3 separate regions of the Homo sapiens genome follow, and regions 1 and 2 are each linked to region 3. The links are contacts of gene promoters, found by promoter capture Hi-C in human tissues and cell types (Jung and others, 2019). All regions are on one chromosome and are shown on one strand. The core of a region is centred on a gene start or on the middle of the fragment in contact, and the rest is flanking DNA. Distances in the headings are between cores, read along the strand shown.

The links. The method cuts DNA at HindIII sites, captures the fragments that hold promoters and counts their contacts. A contact is called where the count stands out against the background at its distance.
Region 1: the fragment with the promoter of PSMD9 here is called in contact with the fragment with the promoter of MORN3 in region 3 in 1 of the 25 tissues and cell types used here (adrenal gland).
Region 2: a contact is called between a fragment that was not itself captured here and the fragment with the promoter of MORN3 in region 3, in 1 of the 25 tissues and cell types used here (spleen).

The regions. Positions count from the first base shown.
Region 1 is chr12:121,887,479-121,891,583 of GRCh38, reverse strand. PSMD9 (proteasome 26S subunit, non-ATPase 9) reads right to left here and starts at 2,794. Exons shown (of 6, transcript NM_002813.7): 1 at 2,590-2,794. The coding sequence starts at 2,727. It also overlaps a transcript of HPD not described here. RefSeq lists enhancers at 1,910-2,523, 2,491-2,890, 2,524-3,137. The HindIII fragment of the contact is 23,703 bases long and covers 1-4,105 here.
Region 2 is chr12:121,467,952-121,472,005 of GRCh38, reverse strand. All of the region lies in intron 12 of KDM2B (lysine demethylase 2B), which reads left to right. Among named protein-coding and RNA genes, the nearest start is that of MIR7107, 26 kb to the right of the region's middle. The HindIII fragment of the contact is 5,841 bases long and covers 1-4,054 here.
Region 3 is chr12:121,667,683-121,671,563 of GRCh38, reverse strand. It overlaps MORN3 (MORN repeat containing 3), which reads left to right and starts at 1,910. Exons shown (of 6, transcript NM_173855.5): 1 at 1,910-2,225. The coding sequence starts at 2,081. The region is part of intron 1 of LOC105370034 (a long non-coding RNA gene); the gene reads right to left. The HindIII fragment of the contact is 82,615 bases long and covers 1-3,881 here.

The DNA of each region.
Region 1 (4,105 bases), core at 1,545-4,044, 220 kb before region 3:
CTGTCACCCAGGCTGAAGTGCAGTGGCGCAATCTTGGCTCACTGCAAGCTCCACATCCCGGGTTCAGGCCATTCTCCTGCCTCAGCCTCCAGAGTAGCTGGGACTACAGGCGCTGGCCACCACGTCCAGCTAATTTTTTGTATTTTTAGTAGAGACGGGGTTTCACTGTGTTAGCCAGGATGGTCTCGATCTCCTGACCTCGTGATCCGCCCGCCTCGGCCTCCCAAAGTGCTGGGATTAGAGGCATGAGCCACCGCACCCGGCCTTTTTTTTTTTTTTTTTTTTAAAGAGACAGCATCTCACTCTGTCACCCACAAGAGAGTGCAGTGGTGCAATTATAGCTCCCTGCAGCCTCAACATTCAGGGTTCAAGCAATCCTCCTGCCTCAGCCTCCCAAGTAGCTAGGACTACAGGCATGCACCACCACGCCCAACTAATTTTTAAAAAAATTTTTTGTAGGCCTGGCGCGGTGGCTCAAGCCTGTAATCCCAGCACTTTGGGAGGCCGAGGCGGGCGGATCACGAGGTCAGGAGATCGAGACCATCCTGGCCTCAGGTGATCCACCCACCTTGGCCTCCCAAAGTGCTGGGATTACAGGCGTGAGCCACCAGGCCCGGCCCAAACCCACTTTTTAAAAACAAATATAGAGCACGGTTTCAGGCTGAAAGCTTTCAGCAAGCAACAGCAGCTAGCCAGAAGCAACCAACATGCCGTATCAACATGCAAAGCATCTGACCTTATATTTAAGAGAAGAGATTATCATTTTCCATATGCAGCGGAGTTTTGAAATTTCCTTTTAAAATACATTTATGGGCAAGGCACTGTGGCTCATGCCTGTAACCCCAACACTTTGGGAGGCAGAGGCAGGAGGACTGCTTGAGCCCAGGAGTTTCAGACCAGTCTGAGCAAGCAACATAGTGAGACCCCATAGCTACAAAAAATACAAAAATTAGCTGGGCGTGGTGGCACGTACCTGCAGTCTCAGCTACTTGGGAGGCTGAGGTGGGAGGATTGCTTGACACCAGGAGATTGAGGCTGCAGTGAACCAAGATGGTGCCACTGAACTCCAGCCTGGGCAACAGAGCGAGACCCTGTCTCAATAATAATAATAACAATAATAATACATTTATATAAGATTAAAAGTAGATCTATTTAAATAAAAATATCAAAGGAATAACACAAGTGGTATATGCATATAGTATACTGCATGTGGTAGAAAGTAAACTAAAGTTTGAGAAATTGCTGGTAATTTGCTTGAAAGCACAGGTTCTGAATGTAACAGACCTGAAGTCTGAATCCCACTTTGAGCATATAGTCAGCACCCAGTAAAATGGTTCTCTGGCCCTCCGTATGAAACTTCATCTTATGGCCGGACGCGGTGGCTCACGCCTGTAATCCCAGCACTTGGGGAGGCCAAGGTGGGCGGATCACCTGAGGTCAGGAATCCAACACCGGCCTGACCAACATGGTGAAACCCTGCTTTTACTTAAAATAAAAAATTAGCCTGGCGTACTGGCGCTCGCCTGTAATCCCTACTACTCGGGAGGCTGAGGCAGGAGAATCACTTGAACCCAGGAGGCAGAGGCTGCAGTGAGCCGAGATTGAGCCACTGCACTCCAGCCTGGGTGACAAAGCAAGACTCCGTCTCAGACAAAAAAAAAAGAAACTTCATCTTACATCACCTAAAATGCATTCCATCCCACCCTACTTGGGCATAATTAATTGCATCTTCCTCTGCAAACTGATCTGTGATTTTACACTAGATGGCATAAGAAAACCTGCATCAGCTTTTGAGCCAGACCCACCACTGCCACTTCCGAACTACATGACCTTAGATAGGCGTTTGCCCCACTCTGGGCCTCAGTTTCCTCCTTATGCAATAAGGATGATGAGCCTTATTTGTAACTCAAAGTTCGGTCCTTAGACCACTAGCATCAGCATTGCTGGGAGTTTGCTACAAATGCAGAATCTGCTCCCTTGCCTCAAACAAAATCTGCATTTTAATAAGATCCCCAGGTAATTCATATACACACTGAAGTTTAAGAATTCACGATACAATCAGCAAATGCCGGGTGCAGTAGCTCACGCCTGTAATCCCAGCACTTTGAAAGGCCGAGGTGGAAGGATCGCTTGAGGCCATGAGTTCGATACCAACCTGGGCAACACAGTGAGACTCTGTCTTTACAAAAAGTACAAAATTAAGATAAGGCAGTCAGCGAGGCACATGACAGCTGTTTAATCACCAAGTAACACCTGTTTCCCCCTCCCTAAAATGGAAAGAGTAACAGCATCCACCTCAAAGGGTTGTTGCAAAGATTAAATTAACTCAACAATGCACAGCACTTAAACCAGCGCCTAGCACACAGCAGGGCTCCACAAACTCTTGCTGGATATCAATATGGCTAACTCTTCAGTTGCTAAAGTTCTTTGCCTGCCTTCTTGTGCCGACAGAGGCCGCACTTGCGGCGCCTTGGGCCTCCCAGGGAGATCCGTTGCGGAGCGCCCAAACTGAGGCCGCCCTGGCATCCCAGTACCCCAGGGACTCCGGGCCGGGTTAGGCGACTTGGGGCGCCCCGAACCCACACTCACGCTTTCCAGCACGTCATAGTTGGCCTTGATCTGCGCTTCTATCTCCTCCTTGCGCCGCATCAGCTCCTGGACGTCGCTGACAGTCACGACGCCGGCCTGCGAGGAGCCTCCGCTCTGCCTCGCTTCCTCGTCGGACATCGTGAACCCCGGGCCGCGACTCCAGAGACCCGGCTCCCGGGCTAGGGACGACGCCCCAGTCGACCGTAACTACGGCTCCGCCCATGCGCCAAAACACCACAGCCGTCCGCGAACGCGAGAACAGTCAAGGGGCGGGGCTTGGGATGGGGCTTAGGGCGGAGCTGGGTCACCGGAAGCCGCGCCCTGCCGGAACACGTGCGCCTGTGGTGACCCGGCAGGAGTAGCGTCGGAAGCAATGGATCCCCACGCAATTGCACACCAACGCTAGGGGATGATCTCGCCCCAGCTGACTCATTTTCTCATTCGTGCAGCAGACATTTATTGAGCGCCTACTGTATGGATGGATACTGTACGCCAGAGAACCGCTGCGTGGCGCTCCAATTCAGTTCTTCACATCCACACAGCCCTGGAGGATTTACAAAATACATTAAGGTTCCTTATCCCTCACTTTACAGATCCGATATGCCTGAGTACACACCCCGTATCTTGCCACTTAACGGCAATCTGTGTGACCCTAGGTCACTACTTGGCTTCTCTGGGCCTCAGTTTCCTCATCTGTAAAATGGGGCAGTAATTGATAGCAATCTATCTCATAGAGCTGTCCTTCTGCTAACAAATATTCATGGAATGATTCCTATGAGCCATATACTGTTGAAGGTGCTGGATGTTCCTGTTAAGGCCTCTAAAAATCGTAGTGATAATAATAACGGTAACAGTGTTTATTTATTGATACTTATAATGTGCCAGACGCTGTTCTAAATGCCTTACATATATTAATTCAACAACCTCATGAAGCTAGATTATTACATCCCAATTTGACAGCTGAGAAAACCGTCTCAATAACCAATTTACCCAACTAGCAAAATGTGAGGCCAAAATTCCAACCCAGCTTACCTAAACAATCAACTTTGATATCTGACCATGTGCCTCTAATATTTTGTCTTGAAAAGGGCTCAGCGGTCATCTGTGTAGTATTCAAACATGTTTGCCCTGAATCTAATCATTGGAAAACAGACATATCCAAAAGAAGGGACATACTTCAAAACAACTGGCCTGAAAACTTCAAAAAAAGTCAATGTTGTGAAATACACATGGGGAATAAGGGGTGGGGGACAGAGAAAGGAGGCGGATATGCAATTGCCTAGATTTAAGAACACTAAAGATGTGCATCAACTAAATGCAATGGGCCAGGTGTGGTGGCTCATGCCTATAATCCCAGCACTTTGGGAGGCTGTGGCAAGCAGATCATTTGAGGTCAGGAGTTTGAGACTAGCCTCGCCAACATGGTGAAACCCTGTCTCTACCAAAAATATAAAATATTAGCCGGGTGTGGTGGCACACACCTGTAATCCCAGGTACTCAGGAGGCTGAGGTCTCG
Region 2 (4,054 bases), core at 1,544-4,043, 200 kb after region 3:
GATTATAGGCACGCGTCACCATGCCCGGCTAATTTTTTGTATTTTTAATAGAGACGGAGTCTCACCATGTTGGCCAGGTTGGTCTCGAACTCCTGACCTCAAGTGATCCACGCCCAAAGCCTGGGATTACAGGCATGGGTCACTTCTGTTCCCTTCTTAGGGGCATGTTTACAAATGATGCCCATTGGTCCAGGAGGGTACCAGCCCGTCATTGGTCTCAACATTAAAAGGATCCATTCTGTTTCTCTGCCCTGAGCCTCTGGAAAATGATGTTCCCAAGCTTTAGCTGTGGCCTTTGTGACATGGGCACAAGGAAAGGGGTTTCACGCTGGAGAGCCCCTCCGCTTAGGTAAACCAGAGTCCACGGGGACAGCTGCTGCCCAGTCTGCCCTCCCCATGCCCATTCCTAGAAGTGGGCATGGAGAGGCTGGTGACTAACTCCAAGTGTCATCGTCTTCCTGTTTTCCCTCCTCCCTTCACCTTTGCACATTGCCTGACACGGCTGAGTCTGGGCAAAACCTCTTAGCAGCCAGGGGTCATTTCTGGGTTCTCACTCTCTGATAGGCAGATCAGAAATGTACACGACACCCAGAGAGAAAGCAGAGACATGAGTGACAATTGTGATGGAGGAGGACTCGGCTTCCATCTGTTTTTGTTTATTTCCACATCACATGGTGAAAGTTCTGGATCCAACTGGCTGGGTGGCATCAGCTTTGGGGACCTCTTTCTAAGAATATAAGTTAAGGCTTGGCCCAGTGGAATTGGGGGAGGATTCAGTTTTTAGGGTCGCTAGAAGATGAGGTCAGACGGAGGGAGGGAGGGCCACCCAAAAGCACAGTGTACATGCTAAATTTTAAGTTGGCAATTCTGTTGGGCAAGGGCTGGCATAATTTGTATTGTATATATAGTCCAGCACACTATTAATACAAAACAGATATTGGATAATTGTGTGCACCAGTTAACTATAGGAAATTTGCTTTAGGGAAATAGAGAAGAAGCATTTTGCAAGTGTCAAAAGAGGAATTTGTAAGAGGTGTCAGGACAGTGGCCTTCCTAGTGTTTGGAGGGAACCCACTACGTTATCATGTCCTAACCATGGCCTCCCGGTTCCACAGTTGGCCCTTGCCAGATCAGACAGCAACCTGGCTATCCAAACCATACCTACCCACCTTGGAATTGGATTTGAACTGAGAATACAGAATTAATAGCATGTAGTAAGGGACACTTAATTTTCTTCTGCTTCAGCCTGAGTTTGTCACCAGCCTCATTTGGCATCCTCCTCGTCTCTGGCATGAAGCATTGGAGCGGTGCAGTTGAGAGCCCAGGCTCCAGTTGCCTACAGAGTCAGATCCAGGTCCTTTCCCTTCCTCGCGGCAATGCGCCTCAGTCTCCTCATCTGTCAAGTACCCACCTTATGGGGCTGTTTAAAGGAATAAGTGAGATCATGTCTACAGCAGACTTACCACTGGTCTGGCCCTTTGAACATGCTTAAAGCTGCTGTTATTGCCTGGGCCCTTGGAGGGAGGTCTTTCTCTGGATGGTATTATATAAGAGACTCTGGTCTTGAAAGCCACTCCCTAATTTTCTTTGGGCCTTCATTTCCTCACCTGTGAAGTGAAGGGGTCAGGAGAGACCCCCTTCTATCTCTGAAATGATATAAAGGGAGGAAGGGAGTTTGTGTTAGCGGCAACTTTTTTGTTTGTCCGCACTTTTCCTTTCCGCTCTTTGAGCCATGATAGTTGAGAATTGTGTTTTTTTACTTCCTTAAATTCAGAAGTGAGCTTTTGAGAGTCCTCAAAGGAAATCAACCTCAAGATAATTCTTTTGCTCCTGATTGGTAATGGGAAAAACCTTTGAGAAGAATTCCTGCTTACAGACATCTCTCTCTCTCTCCTTTTTTTTTTTTTTTGAGACAGAATATCACTCTGTTGCCCAGGCTGGAGGGCAGTGGCACGATCTCCGCCCACTGCAACCTCTGCCTGCTGGGTTCAAGTGATTCTTGTGCCTCAGCCTCCTGAGCAGCTGGGATCACAGGTGTGTGCTACCATGACCTGTTAATTTTTGTATTTTTAGTAGAGACGGGGCTTCACTCTGTTGGCCAGGCTAGTCTTGAACTCCTAACCTCAAGCAATCCACCCTCCTCAGTCTCCCAAAGTGCTGGGATTACAGGTGTGAGCCACCGTGCCTGGCCTAGACATTTCTCTTGATGTATTATGTTATTTGGGTGACTCTATACCCCTGTAGGCTTGACCAATCACAATGAAGTGGAAGCATGATTGGCATGTTATGAGCCCCTCCTCTTTCTTTAGAGGCTCCTACTGAGTAGAGTGGCCAGCAAGAGGTCAGATACAAACTTCAGACAACAAGGTAGCCTTTTTTTTTTTTTTTGAGATGGAGTCTCGCTCTGTCGCCCAGGCTGGAGTGCAGTGGCACAATCTTGGCCCACTGCAACCTCTGCCTCCCAGGTTTAAGTGATTCTCCTGCCTCAGCACCCCCACGTAGCTGGGATTACAGGTGCGCACCACCACACCGAGCTAATTTTTGTATTTTTAGTAGACACTGGGTTTCACCATGTTGGCCAGGCTGGTCTTGAATTCTTGACCTCAGGTGATTCACCCTCCTCAGCCTCCCAAAAGTGCTGGGATTACAGGCGTGAGCCACCGCGCCCAGCCATCAAGGTAGCTTTTAAAAAGCTGAGACCTTTGGGAATGGAGTGATGTGGGGTGGGGTGGGGGGGTTAGGGTGTATTCTTTTGCTTGTTGTTTCTGTTGCAACTTTGAGAAGATTCTGAAAAATAAGAGGGGAGTGATGGCCGGGCATGGTGGCTCATGCCTGTAATCCCAGCACTTTGGGAGGCTGAGGTGGGTGGATCACTTGAGGCTAGGAGCTCCAGACCAGCCTGGCCAACATGGTGAGACCCCCCTCTTTACTAAAAATACAAAAATTAGCTGGGCGTGGTAGCGCCCACCTGTAATCCCAGCTACTCTGGAGGCTGAGGCACACGAATCGATTGAACCCAGGAGGTGGAGGTTGCAGTGAGCCGAGATCCACTGCACTCCAGCCTGGGCGACAGAGTGAGAGTCTGTCTCAAAAAAAGGAGAGTAAGGAAGGAAACTCAGAACAGATACGTTTCGGCAAAGAGCAAGTCGACTGGGATTTTTTCTATAGTGGGTGTGTAAATTTCAGACTTTAAAATCCACTCAGTAAAACTGACATCCCTGCTTATTCACTTTTGCCGACTCTGCTAGAAGCCTCCTGAGTTTTGTTTACAAGGTCTCCGGCACACAGCCTGCCTTCTTTGAAAGGCCAGGCCAGGACCAGCCTGCCCATCCCTTCTGTTCTCACTGGATTTCGTGGCCAGTGGCCTGGACGTGACTAACAGATGGCCATTGCAGAGCTGATCACCTGATTTCATGGCTTATTCTTGGGAAAGCCTCTGATCTTTTTACAGAAGGTTATCCATCCCTTGGTAAATCCTTCCCCTTGTATAGATGGAGAAACTGAACAGGTACAGGTGTGCATATTTAGTGTTACCTTGGACAGGTGGATGATATGTATGCCAAGTCCTCCTTAGCTTGTGTTTAGCTTTGGTTTTGATGCTTATAACAGCTTTGGTCGTTCTAGCTCATGGTCATGAGCTCTTTCAGAGAGGCTGCTGGCTTAAGTGCCCGATAGACTTTTTTTTTGAATGAATGAAGATCTATCTGGATTTCTAGCAACACTTTTCTTCAGGAGTGGGCTGCAGCTGGAGTGAGCACTAGGAACCTTTGCAGCTTAAGAATTCAGAAACCCACACCTCCCCAGCCAGCCTAAGGGGCAGCCAGTCTCCTAGGAGAGCTGGGTTCTGGCCTGCGACGTCCTCCACCTTTCGGAGGTCAACTCAGAAGGCGGTACCTGTCCAAGGGAGGGGGCGCCCACCTCAGGGTAGAGTCAGGGCGTTCTGACAGCCCCCGTCAGGCGACTCGAGTGGAACTCCCGCCTGCACTACTTGACCCTGCAAAGGCGAACCCGAGTGCCGGAGGTGCAGCGCCAGGAGGCCGGCCCAGCCCAACCG
Region 3 (3,881 bases), core at 661-3,160:
CAGTCAACTCTAAGCCATAGCATCTAGCTAAGACTTAAATTGGTTCTTTCAGTGTTTTCATTTTTACATTTATTATTGCCTTAGGGTACCTGCTACTGGTTTTCTATTTATAATAATGATACGTAAAGTCTCCATTCTTCTAATTTTTTTTTTTTTTTGAGATGGAGTCTTGCTCTGTTGCCCAGGCTGGAGTGCAGTGGCGCGATCTCGGCTCATTGCAAGCTCCGCCTCCCGGGTCATGCCATTCTCCTGCCTCAGCCTCCCGAGTAGCTGGGACTACAGGCGCCCGCCACCACGCCCGGCTAATCTTTTGTATTTTTAGTAGAGACGGGGTTTCACCATGTTAGTCAGGATGGTCTCAATCTCCTGACCTCGTGATCCACCCGCCTCGGCCTCCCAAAGTGCTGGGATTACAGGCGTGAGCCACCGCGCCCAGTCTTTTTTTTTTTTTGAGACAGAGTCTCACTCTGTCTCGCCCAGGCTGGAGTGCAGTGGTGCAATCTCGGCTCACTGCAGCCTTCTCCTCCCTGGTTCAAGCGATTCTCCTGCCTCAGCCTCCCGAGTAGCTGGGATTACAGGCGCCCGCCACCACACCCAGCTAATTTTTGTATTTTTAGTACAGACAGGGTTTCGCCATGTTGGCCAGGCTGGTGTTGAACTCCTGACCTCGGGTGATCCATCCGCCTCGGCCTCCCAAAGTGCTGGGGATTACAGGCGTGAGCCACTGAGCCCGGCCTATTTTATTATTATTTTTTAAGACTGAGTCTTGCTCTGTCTCCCAACCTGTAGTGCAATGGTGCAATCTCGGCTCACTGCAACCTCCGCCTCCTGGATTCAAGCTGTTCTCATGCCTCAGCCTCCTGAGTAGCTGGGATTACAGGCGCGTACCACCAGGCCTGGCTAATTTTTGTATTTTTAGTAGAGACAAGGGTTCACCATGTTGACTAGGCTGGTCTCGAACTCCTGACCTCAGGTGATCCACCCGCCTCGGCCTCCCAAAGTGCTGGGATTACAGGCATGAGCCACTGCGCCTGGCCCTCCTTTTTTCAATATATGTATTGATTTTTTTAAAGTGAGTTAACTTATTTTTATTTTCTTCTTGAGAAAAGTTCTCACTCTGTCATCCAAGCTGGCGTGCAGCGGCATGATCTCGGCTTACTGCAACCTCTGCCAAGTGAGTTAATTTACATATAAAGATTAATAGTACATGTGATATTTGGAAATGGGAGAAGAAAAAATCCCAACGGCATAGAATTTAGGACCTGAGATTGTTTCCCCACTCCCAGCTTTTGCTCTGCCTATTTTCTTTGCCTGGAATTATTTTTCCCTACTCCTAGGTGTGATTGTCAAAATATGTAACCCATATTTTGGGTTCATATTTTGGATTCATATTTGGCTCAGTGGCTCATGCCTGTAATCCCAGCACTTGGAGAGGCTGAGGTGGATGGATCATTTGAGATCAGGAAATTGAGACCAACCTGCCCAGCATGGTGAAACCCCCGTCTCTACTAAAAATACAAAAATTAGCCAGGCGTGGTGGTGGGCGCCTGTAATACCAGCTACTTAGGAGGCTGAGGCACGAGAATCACTTGAACCCAGGAGGCAGAGGTTGTAGTAAGCCGAGATGGTGCCACTGCACTCCAGCCTGGGCAACAAAGCAAGATTCCATCTCTAAATAAATAAATAAATACATAAATAAATAAAAATATTTAGAAGACATAAAAAAAAAAATATATATATATATATATATGTATATATGACCGCCACCCCCTCCCTGGGGGCAGCTTCTCCCTGATGCCATCACAAACCCTCCTGCTCTACTGGTTTCCCTAGATTCCCAAGTAATTGTGCCATCAGACCCCCTGGGAGGGGGCCCCAGGAGAGGCAAGGGAGGGGCCAACCAAAGGTCAGTCCAGCACTAAAGGATCCCCACTAAGGGCTGTTCACCTGCCCCAGGGACTCAGAACACACATGACTCTCCCCACTTGAGCTCAGGATCCCGGCATTACACGGGGCGCGCTGAGCCCCAGATGTCCCTAACCCCTTTCCAGCACCCTCCAGCCTTGCAGAAGCAGCCACCATGCCAGTCTCTAAGTGCCCAAAAAAGTCGGAGTCCCTGTGGAAGGGGTGGGACCGGAAGGCCCAGAGGAACGGCCTGCGGAGCCAGGTATACGCTGTGAATGGCGACTACTATGTGGGCGAGTGGAAGGACAACGTGAAACACGGTGAGTGGGACTCCGGGACGGGCGGCCGGAGTGGGGTCAGAGCCACAGTGGGCAACAGGGCCAGGAAGGCAGAGTGCAGAGCTCACTGGGGACATGAGATGTGTCCCCAAGGCTCCCCCAGGGTGAGCGCTGGCCCAGGCCAGCTGGGGGCCTTCACATGCTGGGGCTTCTGAACAAACTCAGCCCTGACTTCAACTGAGTGAGGGTCTCAGGACCAGCAGTGGACAGAGGGTCTTGAGAAACTGGCCTGCCCCCGGGGCTCTGGGACCTAGGGGGCTCAGTTCCTGCCTTCTGAGACCTGGGTTAAGCACTGGGCTGGCTGGCAACAAGAAAAGCCACGCCCCTGAAGCCAGCTTGCAGTGGGGTTCTGGGCTTCGCATTCAGCTGTGATGCTCTGCAGAGGGCTGAGCGCCAGGCACAAGGGAGGACCCCCTACTCCATCCCACAAGGAGGAGCTGGGGCTCCAAGTCTGACCAGCAGGGGGCAAAGGGGTCCTGTTGATACAAACTAAATCCTGACTGGGGAAAAAAATAAAGAAAAAAGAGCTTTTATTTTAAAATGTGGCACTGCTGCTCACTCCAGTCTTGCAATTCCAGACTCTGTACTCTTTTTTTTTGAGGGGACAAGGTCTTGCTCTGTCTCAAAAAAACAGGCTGGAGTGCAGTGGTGCCTTCATAGCTCACTGCAGCCTCGAGATCCTGGGCTCAAGCAATCCTCCTGTCCAAGCCTCCTGAATTGCTGGGATTACAAGTGGGAGTCACTGTGCCTGGCTAGATTCTGTGCTCTTTTTATTTTTTTAGACGGAGTTTCACTCTTGTTGCCCACGCTGGAGTGCAATGGCACGATCTTGGCTCACCGCAACCTCTACCTCCCGAGTTCAGGCGATTCTCCTGCCTCAGCCTCCAGAGTAGCTGGGATTACAGGCATGTGCCACCACGCCTGGCTACTTTTGTATTTTTAGTAAGACGGGGTTTCTCCGTGTTGGTCAGGCTGGTCTTGAACTCCCGACCTCGAGTGATCCGCCCGCCTCGGCCTCCCAAAGTGCTGGGATTACAGGCGTTTAGCCACTGCGCCCAGCCCAATTCTGTGCTCTTAACCATCCTGCTCTCCTGCCTTGCTGGGTTAAGTGCTTTGCAGTCAAATAAACCTGGGTTAGGATCCCAGTTCCAGGCTGGGTGTGGTGGCTCACATCTGTAATCCCAGCACTTTGGGAGGCCGAGGCAGGCAGATCACCTGAGGTCAGGAGTTCAAGACCACCTTGGCCAATATGGTGAAATCCCATCTCTACTAAAAAAATACAAAAATGGGCCAGGTGGGGCTGGGCGTGGTGGATCACGCCTGTAATCCCAGCACTTTGGGAAGCCGAGGCGGGCGGATCATGAGGTCAGGAGATTGAGACCATCCTGGCTAACACAGTGAAACCCTGTCTCTACTAAAAATACAAAAAATTAGCTGGCTGTGGTAGTGGGCGCCTGTAGTCCCAGCTACTCGGGAGGCTGAGGCAGGAGAATGGCGTGAACCCAGGAGGCGGAGCTTGCAGTGAACCGAGATCTCGCCACTGCACTCCAGCCTGGGCGACAGAGCAAGACTCCGTCTCCAAAAAAAAAAGAAAAAAAAAAAGACTTGGAGGAGAGGGAGTAACTGAGTGGATGTTTG